Regions from separate parts of the Homo sapiens genome. Here region 2 is linked to region 1. Evidence: promoter capture Hi-C in 16 types of primary human blood cells and fetal thymus (Javierre and others, 2016). All regions are on one chromosome and are shown on one strand. Each heading gives the region's core, a stretch centred on a gene start or on the middle of the fragment in contact. The rest is flanking DNA. Distances are from core to core; before and after follow the strand shown.

What was found. Contacts are between HindIII fragments. The CHiCAGO score rates a contact against its expected background, and 5 or more counts as called.
Region 2: a fragment that was not itself captured here is called in contact with the fragment with the promoter of COL24A1 in region 1 in 1 of 17 cell types (megakaryocytes); the score reaches 6.1 in megakaryocytes.

The regions. Positions count from the first base shown.
Region 1 is chr1:86,153,292-86,159,489 of GRCh38, forward strand. It overlaps COL24A1 (collagen type XXIV alpha 1 chain), which reads right to left and starts at 3,481. Exons shown (of 60, transcript NM_152890.7): 1 at 3,050-3,481. The coding sequence starts at 3,105. The HindIII fragment of the contact is 10,806 bases long and covers 1-4,781 here.
Region 2 is chr1:86,285,821-86,292,018 of GRCh38, forward strand. LINC02795 (long intergenic non-protein coding RNA 2795) reads right to left here. Exons shown (of 4, transcript NR_187380.1): 4 at 2,887-3,319. Among named protein-coding and RNA genes, the nearest start is that of LINC02795, 31 kb to the right of the region's middle. The HindIII fragment of the contact is 1,393 bases long and covers 2,738-4,130 here.

The DNA of each region.
Region 1 (6,198 bases), core at 2,231-4,730:
CTATTTCCTTTATTAGACTGGAGAGCAGCAACTGTGGATCTGTCATACTCAATCATTGTATCTCTGCTGCCTAGAACCACACTGGGCCCATAGTTGGAGCTCAGTAAACATGTGTTGAATAAATACGTTAATGAATGATGAATAAATGAATGACAGAATAATGTTAGCCTTTTATGAGAATGAAAATAAAATTGTCTTTACTTCTCATTAGAGTTACAAATTCTAAAATAAGTCATAGTTGGAAGGCATGGCAAGGAAACTAGCACAGCTATTCTAATTCCCATAATAACATTTACTTTTATTCTGCCGTTCACAAATTACCAAGTAGAATGTCTAAATGACACTCAAAAGTACTTTCCATAAATTAGATTTACTCTCCCTGAGACATCAGCTTATTTTAAAAATTTATTTGAACACAAATATAACTAAGCAACTTTAAAAAATAGAATTTCGTGCCATCTAGGAAATAGATCTTTATATTCCAAAATTCCTTTTTGGTTATAAAAGTCTTTAATTACCATAATAGCCTGCCTCAGAGACCTTCTGATAATATGTCAAATTAAGGTATCTAAAGCTGACTTTGAGATTTCATTAATTTTATTAATTCTACAAATTCACGTTAGGCAACCCATATAAAAGACCCCACAAAAGAAAGTGTCGTAAAGATCCACTTTTAAACTGGAACTGTTTTTGGGTGACTAATAAGAACTGTGATTTTAAAAAGCGCTCCCTCTCTTACAAAACATCACCACAAAAGGAAAATAAAACTCAGGGATTTCATCAGAGACTCTAAGGTTTAATTCAGTGGCCTGACATTATAAATCAGCTACTTCTTCCAAATCCAGCCCCCCCGCCCCACCCCGCCTCAAACTCCGAAGGGTTGGTGGCATTATTTTTCAAAGGGAAAAATTCCAAATTATTTATGAAAATTGGATTTTCTAGAAACAATTTTTTCAGTCCAATCATTAGCTATCTTTCCCAAGTTTGCATGTGTGGTTGGAGCTGTGAGTTCTGTAATCTGATGTAATTATGAATTACCCTTAATTCTCTGCAGCCCATCCCCAGTGGCCCCTGTAACAGAACAAATTGGATATTATGAGATAACCAAGGGCTGCAAGGCCTCTGGTGGTCATGGGAGACAAACACCTTCATCCAGAACCTGCTACTTATCCCCATGTCTCTGCACAAGGGTTCTCTTCCCATTCCACGTTTTATAATTTTTCTTCAGAAGTTCCTCCGGTGCAATCCATTCTATTTGGTTTCTCTGCCTCCCTCCCCCCAAATCATCTGGACCCAATTTACAAACCCCAAACTGCCCAAGAATTTATGCAGGGCCTTTTCTGGGAGCGTCTGGAAGGGAAGTGTAAACCAGACAAGACAAAACCCAGGAGCAGATCTGCTTTAACTCCGGTGGTTGGTCACAACTACCAAGGGGAGTGTTAGTCACCAGCGTGGGCCTCGCGCGGTGGCAGAGGGAAAGCCCTCGGGGCAGGAGCTGCAGGAGGGCCGCATGCGGAGGCTGGCTGGGCAAGAAGTGGAGGGCCTCACTCCGCCTCTCCTGGAGTCTCCAGGCTGGCAGGGCTAGAGCCTCTCTGCATCCGCCCCTGATCAGCGGGAAGATCTGTCAGTTCCGCAGGATCGGCTGCAACCCCCGACTCTCCAGGCTGGTCCACACAGAGGGATGTTTATCGAGAACAGTGGCGGGAAATCTTCTGCCTGGGAACCCCATGCGACCTGCGTGAGCCGCTCTGAGAAGGCAACCCGCAGAGCTTGACCTCTACTCGCTCCAGGGACTCCCCAGCCTCCAGCACCCCGCTGCCCGCACGGGGTTGAGGAGATTGGGAGGTTTCCTCTTCACTGTTGCATGGGGATGGGGGTGTGCGGGGAGGTGCATGTGGTCAGCTGGGAAGCCCAGCAGCGAGGCTTCCAGGGGTCGGAAGAGAGCGCGCGCGCGAGCCCCAGCCAGGCTGGGCTGCACGCGGCTGGGAAGCACATGTTCATACAAACACGACCACAAGGCGCTCTTTCTCCGCACCCTGCCTCCGCCTGCCCTCAGCTGACACGGTCAATTCTGTTCCTTGCCCTCCTCCCACCTAGCCTCCTGAGGGGCAGCCTCTCTGCAGAAGACTTCCACAGCCGCGTTCACCCTTCTCGCCCAGGGGCCAGAAGCAAACTTGTGTAACCCACTGACCTCTTCCAGGGGGACCAGGGCATCCAGCCAAAGCCGCGCAACCCCTGGTCCGAGCCCTTTTCCCAGGGAAGGCATGGGAGCAGGTACAGCGCCCAAAGGGGAGGTGGGGTGCCCGTCAGGACCCGCCCAAAACCTCCGCAGGAGGGGCAGGCCCGCCCCCGTGTCCTGCTCCCCTCCCCAGTCCCCGCCGCGAGTGCCACTTCCCCAGTGACAGGGCAATGATCAGGGCGCAGCCTCGGCTCGGATGGGCAACGTTTGTTGGCCTTCTAACCAGAGGGGATTGCCTCTGAGCCCGTGGGTAAAACAACCCCCCGACGCCCGAGGTTCTGCAGCCACCCCCTTCCCCCCGCTGGCGACCCTTCCTCACGCCTGAGTCCAGTGGTCCAGGCTGCGCACACTGACCCTGGGGGACCTCTAGCGTCACAGCAATCGCCAGGCTGGACGCCCTGAGAAGCACCTCGGGGAAGCAGGACCTCGACAGGGCCCTGCGGGAGGAGAAGGGGAGGAGGGCGCGAGGGCGGCGGGAGCTGGAGCCAGAGAGATCGTCGGAGCCCAGCTCTGGAGCTTAGGGAGCCGCTGCCCTGGACCTCGGGACTCGCGCCAGCGAGCTTTTCCTCTCGAGCCAAAAGATCGCTTTAGCATAAACTGTCTGAGATCTGCTGGCACGAGGCATCCTTTCAAACACGGTATTTTGCAAGCTGAGAAGACAAGGGGAAGATACCGCGGGTACTCGGCCGCTCCTAAAGCCAAAAAGTGCCAAGGAGCCGGACTTCAGATCTCCATCAGGCTCAGCAGAACCAGGGGGTGGAGAGAGGGGTTGGTCTAACCCCTACCCTACCCGGCGGGTGGGCTACTTACGTTTTTGCCGTGGGGGAGACTTTTCCACGCCTTGTTCTGTGGGCTCTTAAATGCATTTGTATGCATTTGTCCGTGCAGCAAAGCGCTAACGGAAAACAGAAGCCAACTCTGAACTGCTTAGGGTGCAGGTACTGTCCATGAAAAAGGGAAAAAACAATCACATGAAAACCATGCTTCAAACCCGCAACAAGAAAAAAAGGAGGGGAGGGGGTGAAGTCGGGAGGAGGTAGGAAATAGCACCCGAAGGGGAGGACAGGCTTCCTAGCTCTCTGGCTCGGTAACGAACGAGCCCAGGGTTGCGCTCCCCGGGGAGGGCGGGCGAGGAGGTAAACCTCACTGGGAGGCCTCGGGGCGCCGGCGGCAGCGGGAGCCGGGCTGCTAGTGCAGCACTCAAGTTCACTTGCGGTTCAAAGGCGACTCTGTGACTCCAGTGGAGTCCTCTGCTTTGGGCCTGGGAGGAGAAAGGGGTGGGGGTAGGGAAGGAGATGAAGTGGGGGAGGAAGTCCTTGGAAACAGCCCGCGCCCGAACGTTTGTCAAACAAGCACACACACCCACTTCGGAAATCAAGTCGGTGCGAGGGGGCCGGTGGCAACTGCAGGCGCTCGGCGTTGACTGCCGCCGGCTGCTTTGCCTGGAAGAAGAGGAGCCAAGCAAATCCGGCCGGTGTTAAATTTCACCGCTCACTGACTTGCAATGACATCACCAAACACTGCGCACACCTCCCCCTCTGCCCCCGCAACCTTCCCCGACCCAGCGTCCGGCCCAGGCGCCCCCGTTCGCCAGCCCTTCGGGGTCGGGCTGGGCCACCGCACCCCGGGCGCGCTCGCCTCCGCCTGGGTACGACCCGGATGGTCTCCTTTCCCACTTATAGGCAGCTAGTATCCTTCCTTCCATACCATGTTCATGCTCCATTCCCCATCTCAGCAGTCCCCAATTTGATGTTTCCCTCTTGCTTCTCTCTCATCCCCAATCTTTTTCTCTACCCTTTTCACCCACATCTTCTGAAATCACACTTAGAGGAGGCCTTCATTACCCTGCGACCTTCTTGCCTTCTTTGCAGTTAGGCCAGTGGCCTACGTGGTATTATTAAATGACTTTAACTGTCCTCATTTCTACCTTTCCTCCCTTTACTCCTTCCTTTCAGTCTGTCCCCCTTACGACCTTCTACTGACTTTTCTCCTGTAATTCACCTTTCTGCCTTTTCCTGTCTACAAGTATTACTGGTTCACAGCAAGAGCACACCACACACACTACAGTCACACAGTCTCTCTCTCTCTCACACGCACACACCACTACCTTAACAATTTGAATACCTTCTCCAACTTTTGTAGCAAATTTCTTCTTTTGATACAAGTCTCTATGCCCCCATGGCCTTATACTAAGAAATCCACCTTCTGATTTTTGCAAAAACAAAAACAAACAAACAAACAAACAAACAAACAGAAAACAAACGTTCTGATTTTATCTTCCTTATTAATAAGACTGGAAACTCCAAGAGGCCAGGAATCTATTGTGTTGTTCATAGTTGTGTTCTTAGCACCTACCTGGCATATCTGTTGAATGAATGCTGCATATCACTGAGAATCATTGCTCCAAATTTTTCTTGTCTAGCCTGTGTGCCTTCCAGAGCTAATGACCCTTCCACATGCTGAAAGGGATCCCACATTACACACACATTATAAAGGTTAAAGTGATCATATTGGTGAATGACAATGATTGATGTGACTCTCAAGCTTGGTAATTTTTTAAATGCAAGAATATAGAAATTCATTATGCCCCCCTCAATTTTTTGACTGTTTATTTTGAAATAATTTTAGATTATAGAAAGTTGCACAATAGTACAGAGTTCCTATATATACTTCCCTCAGCTTCCCCTAATGTTAACAACTTACATAACCAAATTACAGTTATCAAAACTGGACAATTGGGCTGGGTGTGGTGGCTCATGCCTGTAATTCCAGCACGGCAGGCCAAGGCGGGCAGATAACCTGAGATCAGGAGTTCGAGACCAGCCTGGTCAACATGGTGAAACCCTGTCTCTACTAAAAATACAAAAATTAGCCAGGCTTGATGGTGCACGCCTATGATCCCAGCTACTCAGGAGGCTAAGGCAGGAGAATCGCTTGAACCAGGGAGGCAGAAGTTGCAGTGAGCTGAGATCACGCCACTGCACTCCAGCCTAGGAACAGAGTGAGACTCCAACTCAAAAAAAAAATAATAATAAAAAATAAAAAATAAAATCCCTGGATAATCAACACCAATATAATGCTAATAACCAATCTATACATCTTATTAAATATTGTCAGTTTTCCCATTAATGACCTTTGTCTGGTCCAGGATTTTACTCAGGATCCTACACTGTGTTTAATAAACTAACACAGTGATTAACTGAATTATTAGGTTTCCTTAGTCTCCTCCCATCTGTGGCAGTCCTGTCTTCCTTTGTCTTTCACGAACTCAACACTTTTGAAATGCACTGAGCAGTCATTTTGTGGAGGGTTCCTCAATCTGGATTTGTGTGACATAGTCTCATGATTGGGTGCAGGTTGTGTATTTTGGTCATAAATAACATTGAAGTGATAGTGTGCCCTTCTCGGGGCATCAATCTCAGGTGTACATGATGTTAATATGTCACCTACTAGTGATATTCACTTTGATCACTTAGTTAAGGTGCTCATCTCACAGGATTTGCCATTGTAAAATCTTCCCCCAGTTTTTGTAACAAATAACCACAGATTTCTGAAATATTCCTAGAAATCCAGGACTGAGGGAAGGCAGCCGTTCTTAAATGCCCTTAATTTCTGTTTTTTCTGCTTTTTCCTACTAGTCAGCTAAAGAAGGACAGCTAATTTGGTTTGATGGAAAGAACAATAGATGAAAATTGAGTAGACTTAAGTAACTCAATCTCTGTCTCCATTTTTCCATCAGATACACTTCAGGAATAAAGTCTTTTTTTCTGTTTGCAATATTGAGTCTGAAGAATAGAATGCTGTAGGAAATGAAGTTTTTAAAATGTATTTCAGGTTGAGTATAAGAAGATGACAGTTGCTAGTTAGAGTTAGTGGAACCTTTATCATGCAGAAGATTCCAAAGAGCACACATACCTTCAGACAGAGTACTTTATTTGGGGAGAGGAGGCATTTGTCCA
Region 2 (6,198 bases), core at 2,184-4,683, 130 kb after region 1:
GATTTTTCTCTGTCAGATAAAGCCTCAGTGATTATTATTATAATGACATATGAATAGGCAAACAGACTAACACAACAGAATGTACAGTCAGAAATAGACCTAAATCCATACGGAGTTTTAGTATATAATAAATGTGGTATCTCAAATCAGTGAGAAAAAGAGGTGCTATCAACGAGTCATCTGGGAACTACCAGGAAGCCAGATGGAGAAAAAATGTGGTTTGATGTATGCCTCACACCCTAACCCACGGTAAATTTCAAATGGGCTAGGATTTTTCCTATAGATACAAACACATAAGAATGAAATGACATTTGGATATAATTCATTGAAGCACTGTTTATAATGTAACATATTGGAAACGATCTACAAGCTCACCAATAAGGGACTGGTTAAATACATTAATAGTATATCTATAAAATGGAATACTATAATTTTGTTTAAAAAAGCTTTTTTATCAATATATTATATCAAAATATCTCCATGCTATAGTAAGTGAAAAAAGCTCGAGCAGGAGGTAAAATGTGTACAGTTTCCTATTATCTGTAATTTGAAATGAGAAGAAAGATAATTATTTTTATTAGCTTTCAGATAAATACAAATTCTTATCAAGGATATGATAACCTAGATGTCACATTTGGCAGGTTTCCAAATTAATCCACCTGGGGGAGGTCTATGATTCATGGCTTACATCCTATCCTTGAGTAAAGAAACTTATCCTGAATCCCTGAAATCTTACAGTGGGTTCCTCAAACTGTTGATGTTCCATAACTAAGATGTAACTTAACTGATACTGAAAAGGACATTGATTGGTTTCTGAATGGTGAAGCTTTACTGATTGTCTTGCACATTGAAGATTCTAGCCTGTATGTTACAAAAGACAATTCCTGTATGAGAAGCCACTCTCCCTAAACTTCCCCATAGAAGCCTTCTTCTTCCTCTTCCTCCTCTTCTTTTTCTTCCTCTTCCTCCTCCTCTGCCACCACCGCCTCCTCCTTCTCCTTCTTCTTATTCCTTCTTTTTTTTTTTTTTTCAGACAGAGTCTCACCTTGTGGCCCAGACTGGAATACAGTGGTGCAAACATGGCTCACTGCAGCCTTGACCTCCTGGGCTCAAGCGATCTTCCCACCTCAGCCCCCTAAGTAGCTGGGACTACAGGTGTGCACCACTATGCCCAGCTAATTTTTGTATTTTGGTAGAGATGGGGTTTCTTCATGTTACCCAGGCTGGTCTTAAACTCCTGAGTTAAGCCATCCTCCTGACTCAGCCTCCCAAAGTGCTGGGATTACAGGTGTGAGCCATGGTGCCCAGCTACATTTTCATACTTTGTGTTTAAGCCAGGTAAATGAATACCTACTCAAACAATTTTGATACATGTTTTTAAGTGAAAAAAAAAAACTCCTAATCATAACTAAAGAGTGAAATAGGAAGGTTATGTAAACAATTTGCCAACTTGCAGAAATAAATTTCACTGGTAAATCTGTTCATAATTTTTGTATATACTTAAATATCACTTTAAGAGGAAAATGCATTTGTGATCTCTTCAGCCTAGGTCAAATTCTTCTGTCATATACTTATGACACTTATATCCATTTACTTATGACACATATCCATTTATACATATATCCATTTTGTACTTCCTTGGAGCACTCTTAATAATTAGTTAAATAATCAACTACCAAGAAATTAATCTTCCATCCTAGAATGAAAGCATCAAGAGGGCAGTGGCCAGGCCAGCCTTGCTGACTTCTATATCTCATAGTGTCTACACAGAGGATGCTCTACATTGGAGGAGGAGTTGGTGTTTCAAAATCTAAATGTTTTATTTCTAGTAAGAGGGTAAAAATAGCTATGGCCATCTCACTGCTACTTAGGTAGAGGGACTGAGGAGTACGCTTTCTGATCTTTCCACTGCTCTGCGGCTTCCTGCAGGTATTTTTGCTTTAAGAAAAGAGAGGGGAGTAAGAGCCCATTTGCCCGGGACAACTGAAGTCTCAAAAGCTGATGATGTCCTCTTGAATAAAGTTTTGGAATTTTTCCCATGTCCATTTCTCTTTTCTTCTTTTACTAAGAGAACACCCCATGCCCATCAAGTTTTGGCTAGATTAATGGCTACTCCAGTTACAGGTTACATTTTCCACATTCTCTTGAGAAGGCTTTGAGTTTGGGTTTAGCTTCTAGGTTTTATTTTATTTTTTGAGACAGGGTCATGCTCTGTCACCCAGGCTGGAATGCAGTGGTGTGATCATAGCTCATTGCAGCCTTGATCAGTGCTCAAGAGATCCTCCCACCTCAACTTCCCAAGTAGCTGGGACTACAGGCATGCATCACCACACCTGGCTAATTTATTTCATTTTTTATTTTAATTCTTGTAGAGAACGTATCTCCCTGTGTTGCCCAGGCTGGTCTTAAACTCTTGGGCTCAAGTGATCCTCTTGCCTTGACCTCCCGAAGTGCTGGAATTACAGATGTCAGCCACCCGCCGGGCCTAAGTTTTAGCAACGACTTCTGCTTTACGTTTTTCAAAATAAAGTTGTTTGCCCTTCATATTTTCTTTTGTTCCGTTCTGTGGCCTGGAATGTGGAACCAGTGAAGTTAATGATCACTGGAGAAAACACTTTTGACCTAGAGAGAAAAGCCAAATGTAGAAGATGGCAGAGTTGCCCCAGCAACCTGGGTATCTAGATGACTTTATGGAGCATGGCCCAGGTATTCATCTTGAATTGTGATATGAGAAAGAAGCTTCTAACACATTTAAGCCCTTGTACTTGGAGCTGCTTTTCCCCCCTTACAGTGGTTTAACTTATTCCCTAATCATGGCAACAAATACTAGTGGGGTTCTTAGTGGCAGGATCTGTTTTGTAGAGAACAAAAATCCACTCTAGCTAGTTTAAGAAGAAAGGGATTTATTGCAGCCGTTAGGGAGCTTATAAAACTTTTTGGAAGGCCAAGGAAACAATTTTGGATTATACACTGTCAGAAGTAATATAGTCAGCAGAAACATCTGGCTCACTACAGATTTATTCCAGAAGAAATCCCACTGTTGCCACTACCCTCTACAGAGCACAGCATCACTATTATCTATCTCCCTGGGTTATATGCTGGCTTGTTGATCTGCGAAGAGTATGGGAGCTGCCCATAGTGCTCTGCTGACTCGTCTCTCTGGATCATGCCACGGTGGGCTTGGGCCATGCCAGCGGAGACCCTGACTGTAGTTCTCTTTGCTTTCTCGCATTCACATCTCCTGTAAAGATGCTTTGTTTCAGTCTGTTGGAGTGTTCATTTGCTCTCACTGAATGGATGATTTCTTCTTTAGGAGTTCCTAGAAATGTGATGTTTCAAAAATTTTTGTTACAGGTTTAGCATGATAAAATGCTTTAAATGATAGATGTAATTTTCAGTAACAGAAGAGTCATACTGTCAGAATTCTGAGCCTAATTCCAGAATTGTCCTTGAAAGGACAAGATGTATTGTCAAGGAATGAGTTTAAGTAATAAAGTTGGCAAGTAGTCAACATAGATCAACTTTCCATTATTAACATTCTGAGCCATATGTGAAATGACTGGAAAACAGATCTTGGAGCCATAAGGCATTAAGACTTGTTCTTCCCTTCCTGTCAATTTAAACACAAAAAGCACTTTAGGAAACCAAAGACACATGCACATTCATAAAGGGAAAAGGATTGGAGTGAACCTTTCTATTTTGCCTCTAATGCTGGAATATTCTTTCACATTCTTTCCAATATTTTACTTAGTTTGAATCCAACTACTTTCTGTAATATTCAAGACTTTCCTCAAAAGCATTTCATTCTGGGTCAACAAGGTATGCCATCTAAATCAGATTTTCACATAACCAAGAACCATCTCTTTAGAGTTGAAAACCTTTTTCATCTTATTTTTGACATAAATCTTTTTGTAGTCCATACATTTTAACCTTACTTATTAAACAAAAGATGCTCTCCGTGGTTATCTCAATGAATAGTCATTACTAGATAATGCTTTCAGAGTGAAATTCCAGCTACTTTCCAAAATTCTTTTCACTTCCTGCAGTAATGATAATCACTTTTCACTGGGACTCCCTCAAATATTTTTATGTCCCATTCTCTCTTCAAATGTATTGTTTATAACTTATCAAGCTTAATTGAAATGTGCTAAGTAGAATCAAAAGGCTCTGCATGAGAGTTTAAAAGGTCACCTAGGAAATAAGGAATTTAGCCAGAGTGCTATAGCTTTGTCAAAGCCATTCCATCATGCTTTAAAAAAAATTCTGGATGCATATCTCTACACCAGAGAATTGAGGAGTATAGAAATCTGGCCTTCAGAAGAGAGTAGTTTTACTATCCTTTTAGATACAAACTTTTTAAAAATAAAACAGTTTTATTCAGGTATAATTCACATATAACAAGTCACGTATATTTAAAGTATACAATTTGATTAGTTTTGACATATATACACATTCACCAAACCATCATCACAATCAAGATAATGAACATGTCCATCACCCAAAAAAGTTTCCTCATTCCCCTCCATAATTTTAAAGTCCAGATGCCCAGGAAACTGCTGATCTAATTTATGCCACTCTAGATTAATTTGCATTTTCTAGAATTTTAAATGAATGGAATCACACAGTATGTATGCTTTTTTGACCTTTTAAATTTTACTCAGCATAATTCTGCTATAGCATATATCAACAATTCATTCTGCTTTATTGCTGAGAAGTATTCTATTACATAAGTGTAACCCAGCTGTTTATCTATTCATCTGTTTATAGACATTTGGGTTATTTTCAGCTTTTAGCTATTACAAGTAAAGCTGCGAAGAACTTTTATATACAAGTGTTTGTATGGTGTTAGGAACCAAAGAAACTTAGAAACTGTTTTCCAAAGTGGTTGTATCATTTTACATTCTCAGCAGCAGTGCCTGAGAATTCTAGTTCCTTTATATTGGTATGGTCAATCTTTTAAATTTTAGTGATTCTGACAATGAGTGGTGCTATCCATTGTGGTTTTAATTTGCATGTCTTTAATGACTAATAGTATTAAATATATTTTCATATGTTTGTTTTCTATTCATATTGTCTCCTGACGTGGTTTAGGTCTGTGTGCCCGACCAAAAATTGTGTCGAAGTGTAATCCCCAATATTGGAGGTGGGGCCTGGTGGCAGGTGATTTGATCATTGGGGTGGATTTCTTGTGAATGGTTTAGTACCATCCCGTTGGTGCTGTTCTCGTGATAGTGAGTTCCTGTGAGATCTGGTTATTTAAAAGTGTGTGGCACTTCCCCTCACTTCTCTTGTTCCTGCTCCCACCATGTGAGATGCCTCCAGCTGAGCCTCCCTGGAAGCCCAGCAGATACTAGCGTCATACTTCCTGTACAGCCTGCACAACTATGAGCCAATTAAACCTCTTTTCTTAATAAATTACCCAGTCTCATGTATTTCTTTATAGCAATGAGAAAACAGACTTATATATAATCTTTGGTGAGGAATCTGATCAAATCTTTTGCCCATTTTTTAATTAGTTCATTTGCCTTCTTACATTAAATCTTGAGAGTTATTTATATATTTTGGATACAAGTTTATTCAAATATATCATATAGATGATATATCAGATATATGATTTGCAAGTATTTTCTCTGTAGCTTGCATTTTCTTTCTTTCAAGAAATAGAAGTTTTTAACTTTGATGAATTTCAATATATCATATTTCCTCTATAGATCATGCTTTCAGTGCTGTGTCTAAGAAATCTTGGCCTAATCCAAAGCAGCAAAGATTTTCTTTCTATGTTTCCTTCTAGAAGTTCTATAGTTTTAGGTTTCAGGTTTAGGTCTATGATCCATTTTTGGTGAATTTGTGTAAATGGTGTTAAGGAATGGATTGAGGTTCCTTTTCTTCAACTTTTGCTAAAAAGACTTGAAATTAGTTGTTCAAAAATTGGTGGGTGTACTTCTGGGCGCTCCATTTTTTTCTACTGATTCATTTCTTTATCTTTGCACTAGTACCACTAGTCTTGCTTACTTTAGCATTATAATAAACCTTAAAATCAGGTAGTGTTAGTCCTCTAACTTTGTTCTTTTTCAACATTGTTTTGGCTATTCTAGGTCTTTGCATTTCAAAGTAAATTTTATAATTGTTTTTATCAATACCTACAAAAGAGACTTTCAGGATTATGATCGGAATTTCATTAAATCTATACATTAATGG